4 separate regions of the Homo sapiens genome follow, and all the other regions are linked to region 3. Evidence: promoter capture Hi-C in human tissues and cell types (Jung and others, 2019). All regions are on one chromosome and are shown on one strand. The core of a region is centred on a gene start or on the middle of the fragment in contact, and the rest is flanking DNA. Distances in the headings are between cores, read along the strand shown. Region 1 overlaps HEY2 (hes related family bHLH transcription factor with YRPW motif 2). Region 2 overlaps NKAIN2 (sodium/potassium transporting ATPase interacting 2). Region 3 holds the start of NKAIN2 (sodium/potassium transporting ATPase interacting 2). Region 4 has its middle 54 kb from the start of TPD52L1.

Evidence for each region. The method cuts DNA at HindIII sites, captures the fragments that hold promoters and counts their contacts. A contact is called where the count stands out against the background at its distance.
Region 1: a contact is called between a fragment that was not itself captured here and the fragment with the promoter of NKAIN2 in region 3, in 1 of the 25 tissues and cell types used here (hippocampus).
Region 2: a contact is called between a fragment that was not itself captured here and the fragment with the promoter of NKAIN2 in region 3, in 2 of the 25 tissues and cell types used here (dorsolateral prefrontal cortex and mesenchymal stem cells).
Region 4: a fragment that was not itself captured here is called in contact with the fragment with the promoter of NKAIN2 in region 3 in 1 of the 25 tissues and cell types used here (hippocampus).

The regions. Positions count from the first base shown.
Region 1 is chr6:125,754,647-125,757,346 of GRCh38, forward strand. All of the region lies in intron 4 of HEY2 (hes related family bHLH transcription factor with YRPW motif 2), which reads left to right. Among named protein-coding and RNA genes, the nearest start is that of HEY2, 6.4 kb to the left of the region's middle. The HindIII fragment of the contact is 7,524 bases long and covers 1-2,700 here.
Region 2 is chr6:124,803,785-124,806,484 of GRCh38, forward strand. All of the region lies in intron 5 of NKAIN2 (sodium/potassium transporting ATPase interacting 2), which reads left to right. Among named protein-coding and RNA genes, the nearest start is that of RNF217, 160 kb to the right of the region's middle. The HindIII fragment of the contact is 4,271 bases long and covers 1-2,700 here.
Region 3 is chr6:123,802,557-123,805,256 of GRCh38, forward strand. NKAIN2 (sodium/potassium transporting ATPase interacting 2) reads left to right here and starts at 1,309. Exons shown (of 7, transcript NM_001040214.3): 1 at 1,309-1,698. The coding sequence starts at 1,645. RefSeq lists an enhancer at 65-114. The HindIII fragment of the contact is 12,261 bases long and covers 1-2,700 here.
Region 4 is chr6:125,098,499-125,101,198 of GRCh38, forward strand. No RefSeq gene overlaps it. Among named protein-coding and RNA genes, the nearest start is that of TPD52L1, 54 kb to the right of the region's middle. The HindIII fragment of the contact is 8,655 bases long and covers 1-2,700 here.

The DNA of each region.
Region 1 (2,700 bases), core at 110-2,609, 2.0 Mb after region 3:
CTTTAACAAGCTGAGATAGGAGGCCCCAGATTAAAGCCATGGAAATCAATGCTAATGGCAGGATTGAACTCGTGGGAAAGAACTTTTGGAACAAAAGAAGCACTTGACCCTGGGCTTGTGTTTGCTTTCATAATACTGTGGGAGTAAAGCTTCATTCACAGCAGCCTGGTCAGAGATTTGTTTAGGACTTAAGAAGCGCATGCTGGAATCTGTACAGAAAGAACAAAAAACAAACACACAAACATCCAAACATAAACAGGAGGTTAGAGGTAATCCTTTTCTCCTCCTTCTGCTTCTTTCTTCCTACTCCTTCTCCTCCTCTGTCTTCATTAAATGAAGGCTAAGACTGAAAATAATTCAGCTATTCCAAAGGAATTGACTCTAGAGTTATTTTCATTATTGTTTTCAGATTTTTGCTTGGTCTTGAATTTAGACCAAACAGAACAGTTGAAGTGCAGGTAGGAAGTCTCTACACCAGAAGCCATTAATGGAGCAGAGTCATTCTTGGGGAAAGCAAACAGGAGCAGGCACTCCAGGTCCAGGGCCCTAGAGAGGTGTCCTCTGTACTGGATAGTGACTTAGGGAGTAATTGTCGAGGTGGTGAGAGAGGATCTCATCTCATGCTAAAAACAGCCTTGAGATCCTAGTTCACTCAGATTTCATTATCCCACTTACACATCACAACTCAGACTTGATTTTGTTCCTCTGAATCTTTTTCATCCTTCAAAGAATCCTTTGATATTCACCTTAGCCAAGGGTGTTATTCAGTATATTTAACAACTGAATAAGGAGAAGGTATCAGAAGGATTTAAGGGCTCCAACTAAATCCTGAAGGCCTCCCGGTGCTCAGCATTAACCTTTTACTACACTGTATACGGGTCCTAGATCAGGGCAGAGGCAGGACATTGGAGGGAAGCAACTGTTACCAATATTTAACTCCTGTATGGCCATACCATTGAGGATCTCTAGAACATCAGCCCTGATCTTAACCATCTTTTTCCTGCGTCTAGTAGGGAGGGAGGGTAACCATTGTACAGAGAAGCCCCAATGGGTTGACTTTTCCCAGATTGTACCTTCTCAAGGAACCATCCTGAATGATGGCATGAAATGCAAACATTCTTACATAATAGAAAAGATAACTGGATTAAATCACAGAAGCCAATGATCCAGCCTAGCTTGACCACTGCTGTGCCTCTGACCTAAGAAAAAAGTCTGGGCTGCACTTTGAGGGCTACACTAGCAGCATGAGCGCCAAGGGCCCCTGCAGCTCCATGATTCTGTCTCTACAACTGCTACCTCAGGATGTTAGGATACTGATTGAATTAGTCATGCTACAAGAAAATTTGTTTGATTGCTTTACTTCCCTTAGCATTGTTAGCCACAAGGCTAAGTTTTCTCATTAGGGTTTCAAATATTTGGCATGAGCTGTACTTCTAAAGAGTAATATTGTTCTTAGGCTTTATTATAAAAACTAAGTTCCATCTTGGTTGCTATTCTTGGCCACCTAGACAGTCCTAAAATTTGTCCCAGAATAGTTTGTGAACAGATATTTCCAAGTAGGCTCCATACACGTCACCTGACTGTCAGGCCATTGAAGAGGTCATTGCACTGGAGAATGGCCTTCAAGAAGGGAGCTGGCGGCTGGGTGTGGTGGCTCATGCCTGTAATCCCAGCACTTTGGGAGGCCGAGGTGGGCGGATCACCTGAGGTCCAGAGTTTCAGACCAGCCTGACCAACATGGAGAAATCCCGTTTCTACTAAAAATACAAAATTAGCTGGGCATGGTGGTGCATGCCTGTAATCCCAGCTACTCAGGAGGCTGAGGCAGGAGAATTGCTTGAACCCGGGAGGCAGAGGTTGTGGTGAGCCGAGATCGCGCCATTGCACTCCAGCCTGGGCAATAAGAGTGAAACTCCATCTCAAAAAAAATAGAAAAAATAAAAAGAAGGGAGCTGGCTGTTTGGGTTAACATTGTAAAAGAATACCAACTGCCTCATAGTGCAGTGGTGAAGGGCATCGTATCTGTAGCTGGATTGCCTGATTTCAAATCCTGGTTCTGCCACTGATTAGCTCTGTGACTTTGGGCAAATTACCCCCTGCGAGCTGGTCCAGTTTTATCATCTGTAAAAAGAGGACAGTTGTAGTGTCCATACTATATAACTCATAAGGCTGTTACAAGTTAATTCACTTAAGGCCGATAGAATAGTGCTGGTGTAGAGGGAGTGGTATGGACATGTATGTTACTGTTGGCCCAAGATCCATTCACAAAAGGGAGCTACTTATCATCATTTCCCTCTGAAGTCCACAATAGGATAGGAATTGCATAATTTATATTCCTTTAAGATATAACAGAGAGCTCAGCCATATATGACAACATAGCAGGCAAACCACAAATTTCAATTACTTCATGACCAGTAATGAAAATTCTTAGAAGCTCTTGGGGCTCCAATTCTGTTAGTTCATTCTTTATAGTCTGTCTTGGTATGACAATAGTATCTAGAGAGGATTTAGTAGAATAACCTAAGTTTCGAAATCCCTCTGGATTTCTGGACTCTGTCTATTCTATTCATTACCCCCGTCTTTCTCTCATGGGAGTCAGAAGTCTGCAAAGCCCTACAGAACCCTGAGGACCAAAATGTGAAATCTTTCCATGAATACCTCTTCTTCAGGAATAGCTTTTCATCCTAATCCAAGAGGCTC
Region 2 (2,700 bases), core at 164-2,663, 1.0 Mb after region 3:
CTAGCCTTGGAAATGCTAATTATCTGAGTAAAGAGCCTAAATGTGCATTTTGAAGCATAATTCCAATCATTCCTTTTGTATAAATCCTTTTTGAAAAGAGAGGAGATCCCAATCCTACTCATAGTGTATTTTTAATATATATACCTCTACGTATTACACACATATGACACCTGATTCTCTCAATAACCCTTCGAAGCTGAAATTGCTTGATTATCCTCACTTTACAGAGGAAGAAATTAAGGCTCAGAGCAATTGTGACCTGATTATAGGTCCAATGATGGTAAGAAGTAAAGGCACAACCTGAGCACAGGTCTTCTGACTCCAAAGCCCCCCATCTTGATGCTACCAAACAGATTCTACAACAATGTATCAAGTAGTGGCATTATGATATATCAAGTACTGGCATTATATTATTAAAAGACTACCTGATAACAAGATCCAGGTCTCAGCAGAAAACCATCATTTGTTTCTTAAAATCTCACCTAAGGCACTGCCCTCACTGAGAATTAGCAGATATGAACAAGAACAACAATACAAAATAGTTTATCAAGTGAACCTTATATTTCATTTTTTATTAGGCCTTTAGAACCAAAAGCTTAAAGTGATTTTTCAGCTAACGATATACTTTATTTATTATGATACTATTATAGCTATTGCTTTTCACTTTCATTGTTTAGCACGTGTGAATGTGTTACCAAGCTTAAAATATTAAAGATCTGGGGGAGGAGCCAAGATGGCCGAACAGGAACAGCTCCGGTCTACAGCTCCCAGCGTGAGCGACGCAGAAGACAGGTGATTTCTGCATTTCCATCTGAGGTACCAGGTTCATCTCACTAGGGAGTGCCAGACAGTGGGCGCAGGTCAGTGGGTGCAGCGCACTGTGCGTGAGCCGAAGCAGGGCGAGGCATTGCCTCACTCGGGAAGCGCAAGGGATCAGGGAGTTCCCTTTCCTAGTCAAAGAAAGGGGTGACAGACGGCACCTGGAAAATCGGATCACTCCCACCCGAATACTGCACTTTTTTAACGGGCTTAAAAAATGGCGCACCAGGAGATTATATGCTGCACCTGGCTCCGAGGGTCCTATGCCCACGGAGTCTCACTGATTGCTAGCACAGCAGTCTGAGATCAAACTGCAAGGCGGCAGCGAGGCTGGGGGAAGGGCGCCCGCCATTGCCCAGGCTTGCTTAGGTAAACAAAGCAGCCGGGAAGCTCGAACTGGGTGGAGCCCACCACAGCTCAAGGAGGCCTGCCTGCCTCTGTAGGCTCCACCTCTGGGGGCAGGGCACAGACAAAAAGACAGCAGTAACCTCTGCAGACTTAAATGTCCCTGTCTGACAGCTTTGAAGAGAGCAGTGGTTCTCCCAGCACGCAGCTGGAGATCTGAGAATGGGCAGAATGCCTCCTCAAGTGGGTCCCTGACCCCTGACCCCTGAGCAGCCTAACTGGGAGGCACCCCCCAGTAGGGGCAGACTGACATCTCACACGGCCGGGTACTCCTCTGAGACAAAACTTCCAGAGGAACGATCAGACAGCGGCATTCGCGGTTCACAAAAAACCACTGTTCTGCAGACACCGCTGCTGACACCCAGGCAAACAGGGTCTGGAGTGGACCTCTAGCAAACTCCAACAGACCTGCAGCTGAGGGTCCTGTCTGTTAGAAGGAAAACTAACAAACAGAAAGGACATCCACACCAAAAACCCATCTGTACATCACCATCATCAAAGACCAAAAGTACATAAAACCACAAAGATGGGGAAAAAACAGAGCAGAAAAACTGGAAACTCTAAAAAGCAGAGCATCTCTCCTCCTCCAAAGGATCGCAGTTCCTCACCAGCAATGGAACAAAGCTGGATGGAGAATGACTTTGACGAGTTGAGAGAAGAAGGCTTCAGATGATCAAACTACGAGCTACAGGAGGAAATTCAAACCAAAGGCAAAGAAGTTAAAAACATTGAAAAAAATTTAGACGAATGTATAACTAGAATAACCAATACAGAGAAGTGCTTAAAGGAGCTGATGGAGCTGAAAGCCAAGGCATGAGAACTACGTGAAGAATGCAGAAGCCTCAGGAGCTGATGCAATCAACTGGAAGAAAGGGTATCAGCGATGGAAGATGAAATGAATGAAATGAAGCAAGAAGGGAAGTTTAGAGAAAAAAGAATAAAAAGAAACGAACAAAGCCTCCAAGAAATATGGGACTATGTGAAAAGACTAAATCTACGTCTGATTGGTGTACCTGAAAGTGACGGGGAGAACGGAACCAAGTTGGAAAACATTCTGCAGGATATTATCCAGGAGAACTTCTCCAATCTAGCAAGGCAGGCCAACGTTCAGATTCAGGAAATACAGAGAACACCACAAAGATACTCCTCGAGAAGAGCAACTCCAAGACATATAATTGTCAGATTCACCAAAGTTGAAATGAAGGAAAAAATGTTAAGGGCAGCCAGAGAGAAAGATCGGGTTACACACAAAGGGAAGCCCATCAGACTAACAGCGGATCTCTTGGCAGAAACTCTACAAGCCAGAAGAGAGTGAGGGCCAATATTCAACATACTTAAAGAAAAGATTTTTCAACCCAGAATTTCATATCCAGCCAAACTAAGCTTCATAAGTGAAGGAGAAATAAAATACTTTACAGACAAGCAAATGCTGAGAGATTTTGTCACCACCAGGCCTGCCTAAAAGAGCTCCTGAAG
Region 3 (2,700 bases), core at 59-2,558:
CGCGACACTTCACCCCAATGAGTCAGTTCCTCAGTGGATCTCAACAAATAATCTTCACTTCCTGGAAAAGTTAGGATTGCTTTCCTTAGCTGCCAGGGCTAAAAAGGAAACTTGGTCCTAAATATCCACGCCCCAGGGGCAGCCACTTGGGCCAGCATGTTGCGCCCTTCAGCTTTCCGCCCGCAGGTGGCAGCAGCGGGCTCCGAAGCCTGTCTCTGCAGGTAGCAGCCGCTTCACAGCTTTCAGGCCGGTGCTCAGCGGAGGCTGGTGCATCTCCACTAGGAATCCACACCCAGCTGGGACTGCTGTGAAGCTGAAGTAACTGAGTATTAAACTAGTCTCCGACTCTTTAGTATTTTAAGTGAAAACAAACAACAGTTTGAAGCAGCAACAGCAACTCATTGCATCCCTATTCCCTCCGGTTGCTAATTTTTCCCAACTCCAGCAGCAACTCGGTCCCCTTCCCCAAGCAGGGTCGGCTCCGTAGCTCTCCGCGCTCCGACCCTTCAGATCCTCGGGAGCCCAGGGGAGCCAGGTGCTGGGCGGTGCGTCCGGTGCCGCCGCGCCCCTTCTCGCCACCTCTGGCCTCTCCGCCACTCGGGCTTTCCGGCCGCTCTGGATGCCTCGGTTGCACCCCTGTTCCATGACCCCAGCTTCCTTCCCTAACCCTCCTCTTGGTCCCTTCTCCCCCGAGCGCGCGCGCACACACACACTCGGTTCGCTCCCGCGGAGTGGCTCTGGGAGCACGACCGACTTCAGCTCAGCAAACCGCGGTCATGCCGCCCAGACTCCTCGCCCCGAGGCCCCGGTCCCCGCCGCCGCCGCTTTCGCGCCGCTCCTTTCCGCCTAGACACCGCCGCCTGCGGCCGCCTGGGCGGCAGCCCCTGCGGTCCTCAAAGTTGGCCCCCTGGGAGGGGGCGGCAGGGAGCAGGATGAAGGATTTGTTGTAGGAGGAGGATTCACACATCTGGGCGAAGGGAGGGGCAGCGCCGCTGCTGGGACGCGGCGCGGACCCGCATCATTGCGCGCAGCAGCCGCTGCAGCAGCCGCCGGGGACCGCGGAGCCGGGACGCCCCCGCTCGGCCCGCGCCCCGCTCCCCGCCCCACCCCCGCCCGCCGGGCCCAGCAACGCAGGGTGCCTAGGAGCCGCGGGCTGCGCAGGGAGGCGGGCAGCGGCCCTCGCGCGCTTCTGCCGCCCCCGGAGCCGGCGCGCGGCGAGCGCAGGGCGAGCGCGCGTCGGGCGGCGGCCGCGCTGGGGGGCGTGAGGCGAGCGGCGCGGAGAGCGGCAGGGGCGAAACTTCGCGGGCCAGATGCCCGAGGGCGCGGCGGCGCTGCCAGGCTGCCGCTGCTGCCCCTGCGGGCCCCGAGCGCGCCTCCGCAGGCGGCACTGCCCGCGGCGCGGCGTGTGCACCGAGCGAGTGAAGGTATGTGTGGCGGGCGCGGCTGGAGCTGCCGCCGCCGCCGCCGCCGCGCCAGCAGGTCCTAATGCCTGTCACTTCCCAGGACGCTGGCAGCAGCAGCAGCCCGGAGCCCCCGAGCCCTCGGCAGGTTTGCGTGTCCTTCCCCGCGATCTGATTGGATAAAGTGGGGGCTCGACGGTGGCCGACGTGGGACAGTCTGGCTGTGGCAGGGGTCTCGGAAACCATGGGTTATTGCAGTGGCAGGTGCACGCTTATCTTTATCTGTGGCATGCAACTGGTAAGTGACACTTGGGTCCCCTTATTCTGTAATGTGTCTTTGAGATAGTGGGCAGGGGAGTGCAGCAAAGGGTCTGCCATTGACTAGAATGGACGAAAAAGATAAAAGAGAAGGTGACAGATATATTGCCTATATTGAAGATGATTTCAGGGAGACGCACTCTGGGGTACAGGAGAGGTGAGCCTTTCCGTTCCCACCTATTTCTGTCCCTTTTAAGACAGTTTGGCAGGTGCGGGTTAAACTTGTCTTTAATTTCTTTAGGAAAAGCAAGATGTAGCTCTTGTTCTTTATGCTTTGCATTCCTATTCATGTAACAACGTGATTGTCACCTACAATTTACCGTACAGGTTGTTAAACAGAGGAATACGGAATTTTGGACTTTTCTTCTCTATACTAATTTTGCAGTATCTTTGTTTCTTCATAGACATGTTTTTTTTCTTTTTTTAAGGAAAATGTTGTCTTTAAGTATAATGCTCTAAAAAAACCACTGTTTAGGGCACATGGTATCCTTACAACAGTCTAATTTAGACTGTTTGAGTTTTAGCCACATTGAGTTTTTAAAGTATGCAGATTGAACAAAAATACTTAGGTGAACTCAGCAACACCATTGTCATAGACGGAACCAGTAACCTTTAAATCACAATTAACACAGACAATTCCAAGAAAAACTATTCTGTCTTACATTATGCATATTATTGCTCCTGAAATAGATACTGTTGTCTGATCCTATAGGATGGAGAATTCTATGTACTTTTTGAGGAATGTTGTACAGTTGCAAAGGGGCAAGGAACCAATAATGGAAAACGTCATGTCTCTGAATTTCAATTCCCTAAGGGCAATGGAAGGAGGGTCTGAGTAGAGAGTTGAGAGGTGAAAAATACACCACTCTAAGTGGTTAATTTGAGGTAGGAGCTACTTGCTCACACTTGTCATTAAATATATTTCCTTAGAAAGTATAAATTAACTGGAATAGTCATGTCCGTTTTCAACAACTGTTTCATA
Region 4 (2,700 bases), core at 166-2,665, 1.3 Mb after region 3:
AAAGGTGAGAGGTGGAGGTGAAACCTGGATAGCACGTTCCAAGTTAACCTCTCCAGTCCTTGCTCACTGTTGAGACATTGGGATCCCCCCCAACCCCCGACATTAAACAGAACTCTTCCTTCCACCATGCTCTATTAATATAATCACCAACAGATTGGTTATTTATTTTTGCTTATATTATGCATGAGGCCCTCTAGCAAGAACGTGAATTCCATGAGGTCACGGATCATGTTCTATTCATTTTTGGGTCCCCTCCACCGTCTATGGTAACTGGCAGGTACATCATAGGCATTGAAACGTTTGAGGAACAAATTACAAAACTATAAAACAAAAAAGTTTTATAAGAGACGTGCCCAAGACGCCTCAACTTCAGAATGGTGAAGCCAGGGATTCCAACTGGGTCTCCCTTCTCCAGAGTTGTAAGTGCACTAGGTTAGAATCAGCGGAAGAGTGGGAAATGGGAAGAACACGAAGCTGGAAATGGGAAACCTTAGTTCCAGCCTTGGTTTTCATCCTCCAACTGGCATGCTAACTTGCCCTCTCTGGGCTTCCTAGGTCTCTTATTCCTTATATTGGAGGTGTTGTTATGGATAATTTCAAAACAAATCTTTATCTAGCGCCTACTATGCGTTCACATAGTCTGTTCACGTGTATGTAATCCTTACAACCCCTCTGTGGTGTTATTAGTATCCTCGTTTTATAAACAATGTGGGAAAGAAAACAACAAAGCTAAGCCCAGCTAAACTAAAAAATAAAAAATAAAAAATACAGTTCAATGGTTTGTTTGAGGTCACATAGCAAAGGCTCAACTCAAACTCAGGTCTCCTGCTTGCCAGTCTGCGGTTCCTGCCATGGGGAAATTCTGTTATCTTTGAAGAAAATAATAAGTAAGGGAAGAGAGAGATGCCCTTTCACAACTGCAAAATTCTCTCCTCCCCAGTTTCCAGCTCCCATCATCAACAAAGAAAACCACGAAAACAAAAACAAATCCGGATTGCCTTTGTCCACAGTATAGAGGGCGGGGGCGGGGGCGGGGGCGAGGGCGAAGGCGAGGGCGTCGGCGGGGCTGCAGCCTCCACGCAGAGACCACTGATGGCTCCGCGCCGCTCAGTTGATCCCTTCCCACTGCACGGAGCGGGAGACTAAAGGCCCACTGCCCATGGCTGCGAAAACCTTCCTTCGGGAACGCGGAGCTAGTGCACGGGGGCATGTTCTTCCCCCGCAGCCCTGGCAAGCAGAGGCCGGCGGCCTGTGGCGCGGGGCAGTTGTGCTGGCTGCCGGGCGGGGCTGCTCTGGGTCTGGGTGCACGGAGAGGAGCGCGGAGTGAAGCGCACGGTGCACACTGCGGGGCGCTGCTTGTCACCTCCCTGCCCCTCCCTCTGCCCTCCCCCGCTGTCCGGAGCACAGTCCCGGGAGGGCGGATGTCCCCTGGGAAGATGCGCGAGGAGAGCGACTGGGAGGCAGCTAGCAGCACCTGCGTGTGGGCAACACGACCCGAGGCTGTCTCCATTGCCTGCGTGCTGAAAGCATAAAAGCTTTTTTTTTTCTTTTTTTGAGGAAGTAAATGTGTAAATTAAATTACTTTGGTGGGGGTTAGAAAACAGTTTTCCTCAGTGTCATGGTGACATCTTCCATCTGCCAGTTCACTTTTCATAAACCTGCTGATACATTTTCTACATCTCATTAAAAAGGTAACCCAAAAGAAAAGTAACGGGGGGAGAAGGAGATGAAAGGGAGAGAGAAAGGAAAGACAAAACGAAGAGAAAGTTAAAAAAAATAGACTAGGAAAGAGGGCCCACCAGGAACCAGGAGGAGCCCTGGGGATGGGGTCGGGACGAAAGCTGGCAAGAATTTCGGCTGAGTTCCTTTAACAAGTAGAAACGTGCGGGGTTGTGTGCGATTTTCCTGGAAAATCCTCACAACCCTATGAGATAAACATTATTCCCATTTCAGAGATGAGGAAAGTGAAGTCAGGACAGAGTTGCATCATCAATCTGATTTGAATACCAAGGGCAAGTTTTTTCCCACTACATCAGGGTATCCTGATCCGTTTTAAACTATTAGAATCACCGTTGTTGCATTATTTATTAGCCTTGACAGAGACTGAATAACCTCCCCCATCACAGAGTCTGCAAGGACAGAGGTGTGATCTAAACCTGGGCCTGGGAGCCCTGAGCTATCAAGCTAGACTGCTTCTCAGAGCCCTTCTCTTGTTAACCAGGGACTCTGAGGCAGGGTACCCAAACTGTCCTTTGACATCTGCAACTCTAAAAGAGTAATTGGAAATTGGGGAATAATAACACAACAGATAGAAGTTTTTGTTCCCATCAAATGAGACAGTGTATATGAAAGTACATAGCATAATACCAGTTATTTTCTTTCTGACATTCAATTCATTGAAAGTTTATTCAACATTACTTATTCAGTTTATTAGTAGTAGTAGTAGTAGTAAGCATGTTTAGGGCCCCTCCTGTGTTATTAGACATACCCTGTATGTGGATCTTGGTGAAGGCTGGGCTCCAATCCTGGTCTTGTGGAGAGTACTAGGCAAAGATTTAGGACAAATGGATTCCTATCTTGAATTCTTACATTAATTTGCTCTGTGATATTGGCATAGCCACATACCTTCCCAGACTTTGGTCTAAAATCAAGGAGTGCAAGGGTAGTCTCTAAGATCTCTTTCAGCAATGAAATGTGGGT